Regions from separate parts of the Homo sapiens genome. Here all the other regions are linked to region 3. Evidence: promoter capture Hi-C in human tissues and cell types (Jung and others, 2019). All regions are on one chromosome and are shown on one strand. Each heading gives the region's core, a stretch centred on a gene start or on the middle of the fragment in contact. The rest is flanking DNA. Distances are from core to core; before and after follow the strand shown.

Evidence for each region. Contacts are between HindIII fragments. The study calls those that stand out against the background at their distance.
Region 1: a fragment that was not itself captured here is called in contact with the fragment with the promoter of KCNA4 in region 3 in 2 of the 25 tissues and cell types used here (H1 embryonic stem cells and dorsolateral prefrontal cortex).
Region 2: a fragment that was not itself captured here is called in contact with the fragment with the promoter of KCNA4 in region 3 in 4 of the 25 tissues and cell types used here (bladder, dorsolateral prefrontal cortex, heart right ventricle and 1 more).

The regions. Positions count from the first base shown.
Region 1 is chr11:29,456,701-29,459,758 of GRCh38, reverse strand. The region is part of intron 2 of LINC02755 (long intergenic non-protein coding RNA 2755); the gene reads left to right. Among named protein-coding and RNA genes, the nearest start is that of LINC02755, 140 kb to the left of the region's middle. The HindIII fragment of the contact is 4,337 bases long and covers 1-3,058 here.
Region 2 is chr11:29,481,666-29,484,666 of GRCh38, reverse strand. The region is part of intron 2 of LINC02755 (long intergenic non-protein coding RNA 2755); the gene reads left to right. Among named protein-coding and RNA genes, the nearest start is that of LINC02755, 110 kb to the left of the region's middle. The HindIII fragment of the contact is 5,756 bases long and covers 1-3,001 here.
Region 3 is chr11:30,015,128-30,018,373 of GRCh38, reverse strand. It overlaps KCNA4 (potassium voltage-gated channel subfamily A member 4), which reads left to right and starts at 1,344. Exons shown (of 2, transcript NM_002233.4): 1 at 1,344-1,802. The HindIII fragment of the contact is 10,149 bases long and covers 1-3,246 here.

The DNA of each region.
Region 1 (3,058 bases), core at 559-3,058, 560 kb after region 3:
CATTTCCAAATTCTATTAACTTTTTTTGCCATTGCTAATATTCTACTTACTTCCAGAATCCTTTACTGTTCCCTCATAAAGGAAATAAATGTCTCTCTCTTTTTTTTTCTTTTGAATGACTAGTCTTTATCTATGCTTCATTCATGGTATACATGAATGTCAATTTCATACAGGAACTTTTCATGGTAATGACTAACCTACAAGAATGCCAGTATTTTGAGGAGAGGACATAAGAGTTAATAGAAATAAGCATAAACCCAGGCATATGGGAGATACATCAAAAATATATTAAAGTAAAAATGACATTTTTCAGAATGTATTTGTGAATTAATATTTGGCCTTTCCTCATTAGCTGGGTCTTTGTGTCATTTACATGAGTTGTTTTTCACAGCAATTACAACCAGAATATAGATGCAATGGAGGATGAGGATTAGTTCATCAGGCTAATGATTTGACAGAGAAAAGATTGTTACAGTGGTTATTTTAATTGAAATATGAAGAAAAGGACAATCACGGGCAGTGGAGTGAATCCTGTTTCACTGAACACTTACTGCAATGTGTCTAGTACTTTATAGCTGGTCCTCTTTAACCCTCAAACGTATGTATAAGCTATGTGCTCAGTACTTTCATTTTGCAGATGAAAGAGATGAAATTCAAAGAGGTAAAATGACCTTCCAAAAGTCATACAATTAATGTCGTGCAGGGACTTAGGTCCTTTGATGCTCAAATCTATGCCTTTTCCTTTTGCATCACAATGCCTCCCTTCATCTTAGGCTTTTATTTCCAAATTATAAATTCAATAAAAATATTTTGAAGGTTTCTTATATTTAAATGCAATTTTATGGAAAATTCAAAGTCAAGCAACTCTGCAGTACAAGGTCTAGAACAACTGAAGGTGATCTGAGAGCCTTTTGAGAAGGACACCGAAGGCATCAGGTCAGAAAGCAAAAGAGCAAGACGCCATGGTACCTGGAAAGCCTGAATAATTATTTAAATAAGCCCTGCTTCTCTGCTCAAAAAAGTCACTATAGCATGGAAAAAACTACTTGTAGTTAGAAGTAATAAAATGGTCCTTCAGCAGTTGACTTGTTTTTCACACTCCTTTCTAGGAAATATCTCTAGAAGCACCAGAGTTGTTTTGATTTTAAATGTGTTTATTTTAATAAAGCTACTTTTAAAATAATCTTGCAGAACAGTCAGCTCTGAAAGATAGAGCCTGCTCTGTCAGAGCCCTGAGATTCAAAACAAAGCCTAGCAGTAAATTGATAATTCAGAGAAGGGATAAAAATAGAACCTTAGATCCCTCCTGGGCATTAGTACCATATTATTTTTCGCTAAAGAAGAGAGAAACTTCTGTTACTTCATAGTCTCTCCATCAGCAGCTGAGATCAAAGGAAATTTTTTTTAAGTTAGCATGGGAGATGTAGTGAGAAATTTAGCTGTTGTTTGCTTTCAATTGGTTGAGGGCTCAGGCCAATATGAGATATTGAGAGTAGGAGAAATTTCCTTTTTCTGAAAACTCAAACTAGAGAAGTAAGTCATTATTTTACTAAATGCATTAAAGGCATACTGTGTGCTGAGCCCTGTAGTAGATAAATGGGACACAGAGATAAAGGCAACAGCCCCCATCCTCAATGGGGTCAGTCTAAGTGAGACAGAGATAAAAGTAAAGGTGGGGGTAGGGAGAAAGTCGACTAGAGTTGAATTAAACTGTCCAGGTTATATAATACAAGGCTAACATATTGTATGAAAAGAAACACTTAACACAGTCTTGAAGGACAAGGAGGCCACTAAATGCTTAAGATATGTTTACGAAAGAAACTATTTAGCTGTCAGGATTTCACACTTGAAGGAGTTAATGCTGGATCTGCTATCTTGAAGCATCTTAGAGACCAGGGGATCTCATCCTAAACTGGAATAGAATCACAGATGCTGTATTAGTCCATTCTTATGCTGCTAATAAAGACATACCATAGACTAGGTAATTTATAAAGGAAAGAGTTTAACTGACTCACAGTTCAGCATGGCGGGGGAGGCCTCAGGAAACTTACACTCATGGCGGAAGGGGAAGCAAAGATATCTTTCTTTATGTGGTGGGAGCAGGCAGAAGTGCAGAGCAAAGAGGGAAAAGCCCCTTATAAAACCGTCAGATCCCTTGAGAACTCACTCACTATCATGAGAACAGCAGCATGGAGGTAACCTTCCCCATAATTCAATTACCTTCCACTAGGCCTCTCCCATGACACATGGGGATTACGGGAACTACAATTCATGATGAGAGTTGAGTGCGGACACAGCCAAACCATATCAGATGGTAAGACACAAGCTCCATGGGTGTAGCAATAGCATCTGTATTTTAAAAAACTCTTCCAGATGATTATAATGTTCAGGTAGGATGGAAAATCATTGTTTAAGTCAGACAGAGGAAAGCCAGATGGAAATGTTTTCCTGCAAAGAAGAGACAGGTAGGTAGATAAAATACTTTATTTTAGTTACGGTTCTAGGGAAATTGGGAAAAAGACAAAAGGAAAAGGAAAAATAGAAGAGGGTGAGGAAAGACAAAGAGAAAACATGAATGCATATTCTTACTCCTGAGACAATGGCAAGATTGCTGCTGCCTCTTTCTCTTTTTGAAGCTTTATCTCACCAAACAGATTACAATATCAGTTTAAAGTTAAACCCAAGTTTATTCCACATGCCCACCTCTTCTAGTTGTAAGAAATACAATCTATCTCTCTTAACTTTCCTTCACAGTAGGGATTTACCATAGATTTGTTTTTGTATTCCTTCCAGCCATTCCTCTCTCATCCCAACTCCCTGGGCATTAACATAGCAATTGGAACTCATACAGTCCTCTCTCAAATGTTGAACTTTTTGTTAAACACACACACACACACACACTCTCTCTCTCTCTCTCTCTCTTACTATTTATAGAAAGAGAGAGAGCAAGTAGCCACTTATTATGTACTATGCCTTAACATTCTGAGAAGAGGTTATGCATGCATTAGATGAACAAAAAGGGCATAAACCATATTACTATGGATTGAAGATATGTTGA
Region 2 (3,001 bases), core at 249-2,748, 530 kb after region 3:
AGAGAAGGTTTAATTTCTTGTGGTTGAATGTATATCGGACTGGGTGCCTCAGTGGCATACCTCAAATCAATTATATTTCAATCATAACTCTTTAGTGTCCTTGAATTCTGCTCTTTCAAACCACTGCATGCATCCTCACATCCACAAGTCTGGCATCAACTTTTTTTAGTGACCTACAACAGAAATTTGGTTGTCATTCTCCTTACCATGCCTGAAGCTTCCTTGCCAGACTCAGGAATGTTTAGAGAGTAGATAAGAAATCCTAATCTTGGGGCACTTGGAGAGGAAAGGACATCTAAATTGAATAAGAGGTCTATCATAAAACTTGAAGATTCATCTGGAAGGTAGATACTTCTGGCATAAGAATGGTTAATGAATGAGTGACCAAAAAGAGGAAATAGCTCAGAAAATATGAGTGTGAGAGAGTGTGTGTGTGTGTGTAGAGAGAGAGAAAGAGTAACTTTAAAAACATTATTTTTCATATACATCCTGTTTTATAATTCTCAATCCTGGGCCTGTATGTTACCAAAATTTTAGTTGCTTATTGAAATTAGCTACTAAAATTTCCTTAAGGAGAGAAAGAAAGGCTGAATGATTCACTCACAAAACAATTGCCACTGTGACTGAGTCGTTCTGATGCGGTGTTTTGCCATCTTCAGTTACCACTCAATTTTTCTAGAAAAAGAAGACCTATATTCAGTCACCAGCAATAACTAGGCAACAAATTGGATCTCATTGCTCAATAAAACTCACACACCAGCCAATATGTGGCAGTGGTTGTGCTTAAAAACCAAATAAACTGGTGATTTATCTAGGTATTTTTCCTCTTTTAGTTACTCCTGACATACACACACACACACACATACACACACACATATGTGTATATATACATATGTATGTATATATACATATATTTCTTTATTATGTAAATAAATATACATAATAACAAAAGGGAAGAAGGAGATAGTATGTGGCCAATTGCTACTTCTATATTTACATCACAGAGCTTAGTTTCTGAGTAAATAAGTCTAAAGAATTTTCATACTAAACTCTGGAAAGAGATAAACATTCGCTACTGAATTTTGATAACATTTAGATAAAATTGCTGCAAAATAACAGATACATTTTCATTTTCAATGGATATTGGCCTTGGCTGTTTATCAGTAACGGACTTGCTGGTGAGAAATCATGTATTCAATTTATTCAACAATTGGTTATTTAGTGCCTAGCCTGTATCAAAGGCCAAAGCATGACATTAGGGATACGTCATAAGTCTCAACCACCAAGATACCTGGACCTAGGCAGGGATATAAATGGAAGAATGAACAATTAAAATTCAACGGGATGAGTTCTGCTTCTATTTAAGATCCTAGTCCTACCACTCCTAATCTGTGCAACTTTAGGAAAATTGCTAACCTCTCTCACTCTCAATTTATCTCTATGTTTATGACAATTAGAGACAGTTAGAGGAACGGGTTGAATAGTGACTCCCAAAAAGATATGTCCACATTTTAACCTCCAGTACCTGTGAATGTTACCTTACTTAGAAAAAGGATCTTTACAGATTTAATTAAGTAAGGAAATTGAGATCATCTGGATTATTGCAGCGGGTTCTAAATCTGGTGACAATTGCTCTTACAAGAAACACGGCACAGTGGCAGATGAGGATAAATAGGCCAGGTGCAGTGGCTCACACCTGTAATCCCAGCACTTTGGGAGGCCGAGACGGGCGGATCACTTGAGGTCAGGAGTTCGAGACCAGCCTGGCCAACATAAGGAAACCTTGTCTGTACTAAAAATGCAAGAAATTACCTGGGCGTGGTGGTGCACAACTGCGATCCCAGATACTCAGAAGGCTGAGCAGGAGAATTGCTTGAACCCAGAAGGTGGAGATTGCAGTGAGCTGAGATCATGCCACTGCACTCAAGCCCTGGGCGACAGAGTGAGACTGTCCAAACAAACAGGGTAAGTGACCATGGAAGCAGAGATTGAAAACATGTGGCCACAATCCTAAGGAAATTTGCAACCACCAGAAGCTGGACAAAGAAAGGAACAGAATCTTCCGTATATCCTCAGGAGGAAGTGTAACCCTGCTGATACCTTGATTTTGAACTTTTGGCCACCAGAACTATGAGTGAATACATTTCTGTTGTTTTATGCAACGAAGTTTTTTGGTTATTTGTTACAGCAGCCCTAGGAAACTAATACTGCTAGAAAAGTCCCCCACACATTATCTGATGCTTGGTAAGCATTTAACAAATCATATATAGGGTGATTAGGATGATGATTAAGTTGATCATTGTACTTTTCTTTTAAAAATCAACAGATAAAAATATTTATTCAACATGTACAGTCCTATACAGACCTGTTTTTAGATTTTGACAGGCTTATAGGTACATTTAAAAAATATTTACATTAACATGCCTTCCAAATCTGTTGGCAATTTCATCTAGGACATTTATTATCTATATATTCACACACAGATTTACCTACTAAATAGGTTTTATTTTGCTTTTAGTGTAAAAAGTGAGAGAGAGAGAGACAGACAGAGACAGAAGATAGATGAGAGAATTAAATAATTATTTAGCAATTATACATACATTAGAAAAACTCACTTTGAATGTCAATACCTGGCACACTGACGTAGGCAAGGACAAGAATAACATTGGCAAGTACAACTCACTGACTCAGAGAGTAAGAACTGATTAGTATAGAGTCAAGAAGAGATCGTTATAAATATAATTAACATTGTTTTCCATGGCCTCATGGAAATTCTTCAAAGTTGCAACACATTCAACTTCCAGTTGCTGATAAGACCAAGGCAAGACATGCTATCAAGGCCACTGATATCTCATGTTAGACTGGAGGAAATTTTTTGTATATATCTCAAAATTTATGGGTATGAGATTTCAAAGATTGGCCCTAAACCTTGACATTCAAACCTGAAAGCTTACACGATTACAATGTTTTGTGAAAATAATACCTGCTAGCAAGGAGATTG
Region 3 (3,246 bases), core at 95-2,594:
AAACTGTCTACTTTCCTGTTTTGATGTGGTCCGAAGAAATAAACAAGAAACAAGGAGAGACCCTTCCTCAAACTGTAACTCCAGCCAATTAGCATGAAAAGCTCAAGAAGCTATTAACCAGAAGTTTCGGCTTTAGGGGACCAGGGACTTGCCCGAGGCCCTGGCATGCGCGGCGGCTAGGTTTAACTTTCAACTCATAGTGACCTTTTCCTTAATTTAATGCAAAAAATCTTTCCCAGAGGTGGAGATTTAAGATGCTAATGATACATACGTCCTATGAAGAAGCATGTTAAACCACCATGCATGCACCAGAAAAACTCCACCTCTACATGCCCTGTCTATAGTTCTCCTTATTTCCCCTTACGGGAGAGGCCCGTAAAAGAAACCCACACCCTGACTTCGAGGAACAGCCCACTTTTTTTTTTCTTGGTGTTAGCTCCCTTGTGCGCACAAGCTTTAATTAAAAGAAAGAAAGAAAGAAAACCAAAAAAACTTGCTTTTTGCTGCGATATCCCTTGATTTCTGTCCTGAAGGATCCAAAGAGCCCTCAGGGAGTCGATACCAGAGCCGTATTTGTTTTTGCAGCAACAGGTTGGCTGCGGGCTCTTCCCCCGCCTTCCAAAGCCCTCAGCCCCTGGCCCACCCTGCAACTTACTCATCTCTCCAACCCTCCTCCCCTAGAACTGCTGCCTCCTGTGCGCAGCCCCTAGCCTGGGCCTGATTCCAATTTCTGTAACATTCCCCTGCCCGGGATTGAATACAGGTTGAAAGTCGGTCTCCTCCGCGCCCCTGAGGCCCAACCCCGGCGCTGAAGCCTCCCAACTCCTGTGTGCAAAGGAGACGGAGACTGAGGGATCTGGGCGCTCTGGCAGGCACAGGAGGGCTCCCCGCCCGTGGCCTCGCCGGAGATGCACCCGGCTCCCAACCCAACAAACCCGCTTTGGGAGGGGATGGGGTGGGGAAAAGAAGACGGGGCTCGGGGCTCGAGGGGAGATATAGAGAAAGCAAGTTAGGTAGAGGAGATGTCCCAGAGGACCCCATTTTCGGGACTGCACCTCCCATTGGAGCTCCCCGCTCCCAAGCCCTCTGGGGACTCCCGCGCTGCCGTCGAAACCCCTATTCCGGCCCCAACGGGGACACTTCTCCAGGATTTGCTCCTCGCCTGTGGGGACCACAGCCAAAGACTCCTGGAATCGATCCCAGATCCTGGGAGTCGGGGGGCCCAGCCGGGGTGCGGGGAGTCGCGGCGTCGTGACTGCACCCGCCCCGCCGCGCCGGGAGGCGCCCCTGGCGACCGTCGCGAACGCCACACCCTCGGTTCGGCCCTGGCCCCGCCCCCGCCCAGAGCGCGTTCGCGGCCAGGGGAGGCGTGTGCTGCTCCCGCAGCCAGCGAGAGCGAGAGAGGGATGGATGTTGGAGGAGGAATTCGGGCTTAACAAGTGATCGCTGCTGTCTAGGATTTTGTTTCTTTTCGGGGGAACCTTGACTTCCTTTCCCAGGCAATCCCTCCTGTGCTGAACTCCAGAGGAACCAGGAGTCTTGGGGTCTTCTCTGGGGCAGCCCCAACCCCCACCCCCAGGCTCCAGCCGCGAGGACTCTGTGCACCCCTCGGGCCAGGCAACAGAACTTGTTCCGTGGATATTTGGAGCCTCCACCTGCCAAACCCGAGTGATTCCTTTTACCACCCCCCGCCCCCCACCCAGGATCATTCTTCCCCTCCTCCAGCTGTTGCAGCTTGAGGGGGAAAAACAAGCCAGCCGGTGGATTTTCTTTATTTTTATTTTTCGCCCCGCCGGGGAACGGTAAGTATGATACCTTTTTTTTTTTTTTTTTTTTTTTGTATCTTTCCTCTACCTTCTTATTTTGGCTGTTAAGAAACAGTGGACATTTGAGGGATAAATAATATCGGGAATGTGACAGAAGGGCATGAATGGAAGGCGGTTAAAAATAAACCAGGAGGTGGGAGAAGGGAGGTGCGGATGCTGCGCGGCGCTCCGGGGGGCCAACAGTTGTTATTTTCCCAAACCCGGGGATGCGGTGAGTGCGCCCTGCTTAACGTGCTGGAGCGGGAACCGAGGTCTGGAGGCGAGGGCGCGATTAAAGATGTCGTTTCCCAACGAGAGGGGGGTTAAGATTTAGCATCGTTTCGCCTCCTCCCAGCCGCACCGGTTCCCTTCTTTTGGGAACAGCCGGTGAACGGGTCTGAATTGCTGCCTCTTCCAACGTTTGGATTTGCGTGCATTTTCCGAGCATTTGAGCAACATACATAGGGGCTGCATAAATGGCGTGCGTTGAAGTGTATATTTCTCACGGTGGTGGCTTTTCTGATTCCCTCTCTCAGTTTCTCTCTCTTTCTCTCTCTCTCTCTCTCTAAGGTTCAGGTACCACCCTGACAGTGACACAGTTGCAGGAATTAGCACTGAGAGACGAACAGCCTTGTTGTTGGAGGGGTGAGAGGAGGAGGGGCGGGATGCTTGGCTGTTGTTTGGGGGCGCCGGGATTGGGGAATAGGTAGTCTGCAAAATCCTATTAGTTTAATGGTGTTAAAGAAGAAGACAAATTCCTCTGCAAAGATCTCTCTCATAAAGGCTCCTGGGAATTGGCTTGAATAGATTCTCCTAACAAGAGTACCTTGAGAAAGAAGAGAGATTTTAAACCAGTCTGATTTGCTGGGAGGAATGATTTTTCTTTTCTCTTCTTTTCTTTCTCTCTCCCTTTCTTTCTAGATCAGGGATAGTGAAGTAACTAGTAGATGATTAAAAGGAAGGCAATTTGCTACTTGTAGGGTGGAGGAGGGAGTTAGATAAACAAAAACTAACAATCCCAAATAAATAAATAAATGTGAAATTATTTGGTGTAGAGCAGAAAGAGGGCAGTTCTAGAACTCCCGAAGAGCTGATGGTGAATTAGAAGACTCGCTAATTCATGACCTTCTGGGAGTCAGTTGGGTGGGAAGGCAGTGTGTGTAGTATTCAACTATACAGGAACTTGGGTTACATTGGGGCTTCATTGAAATTATAATTGTTTTAGGGGAGTTGGGGAAGAAACTGAGCAAACTCTCAGGCTATTTGGTCTGTACCGGTCTTGAAAGGATGTTGGCCTGACACTCCACTGCGAATGTCACCCCAGGATGGTTTTGTAAGTAGGGATTTGGAAACTCCTTGAGGGTAAACATTTCAGAGTATGAGATGATGTTAGGAGTCAGGCAAAGGAAGGGAGATGGCATGTGAGATGCCCTCTGTGGTG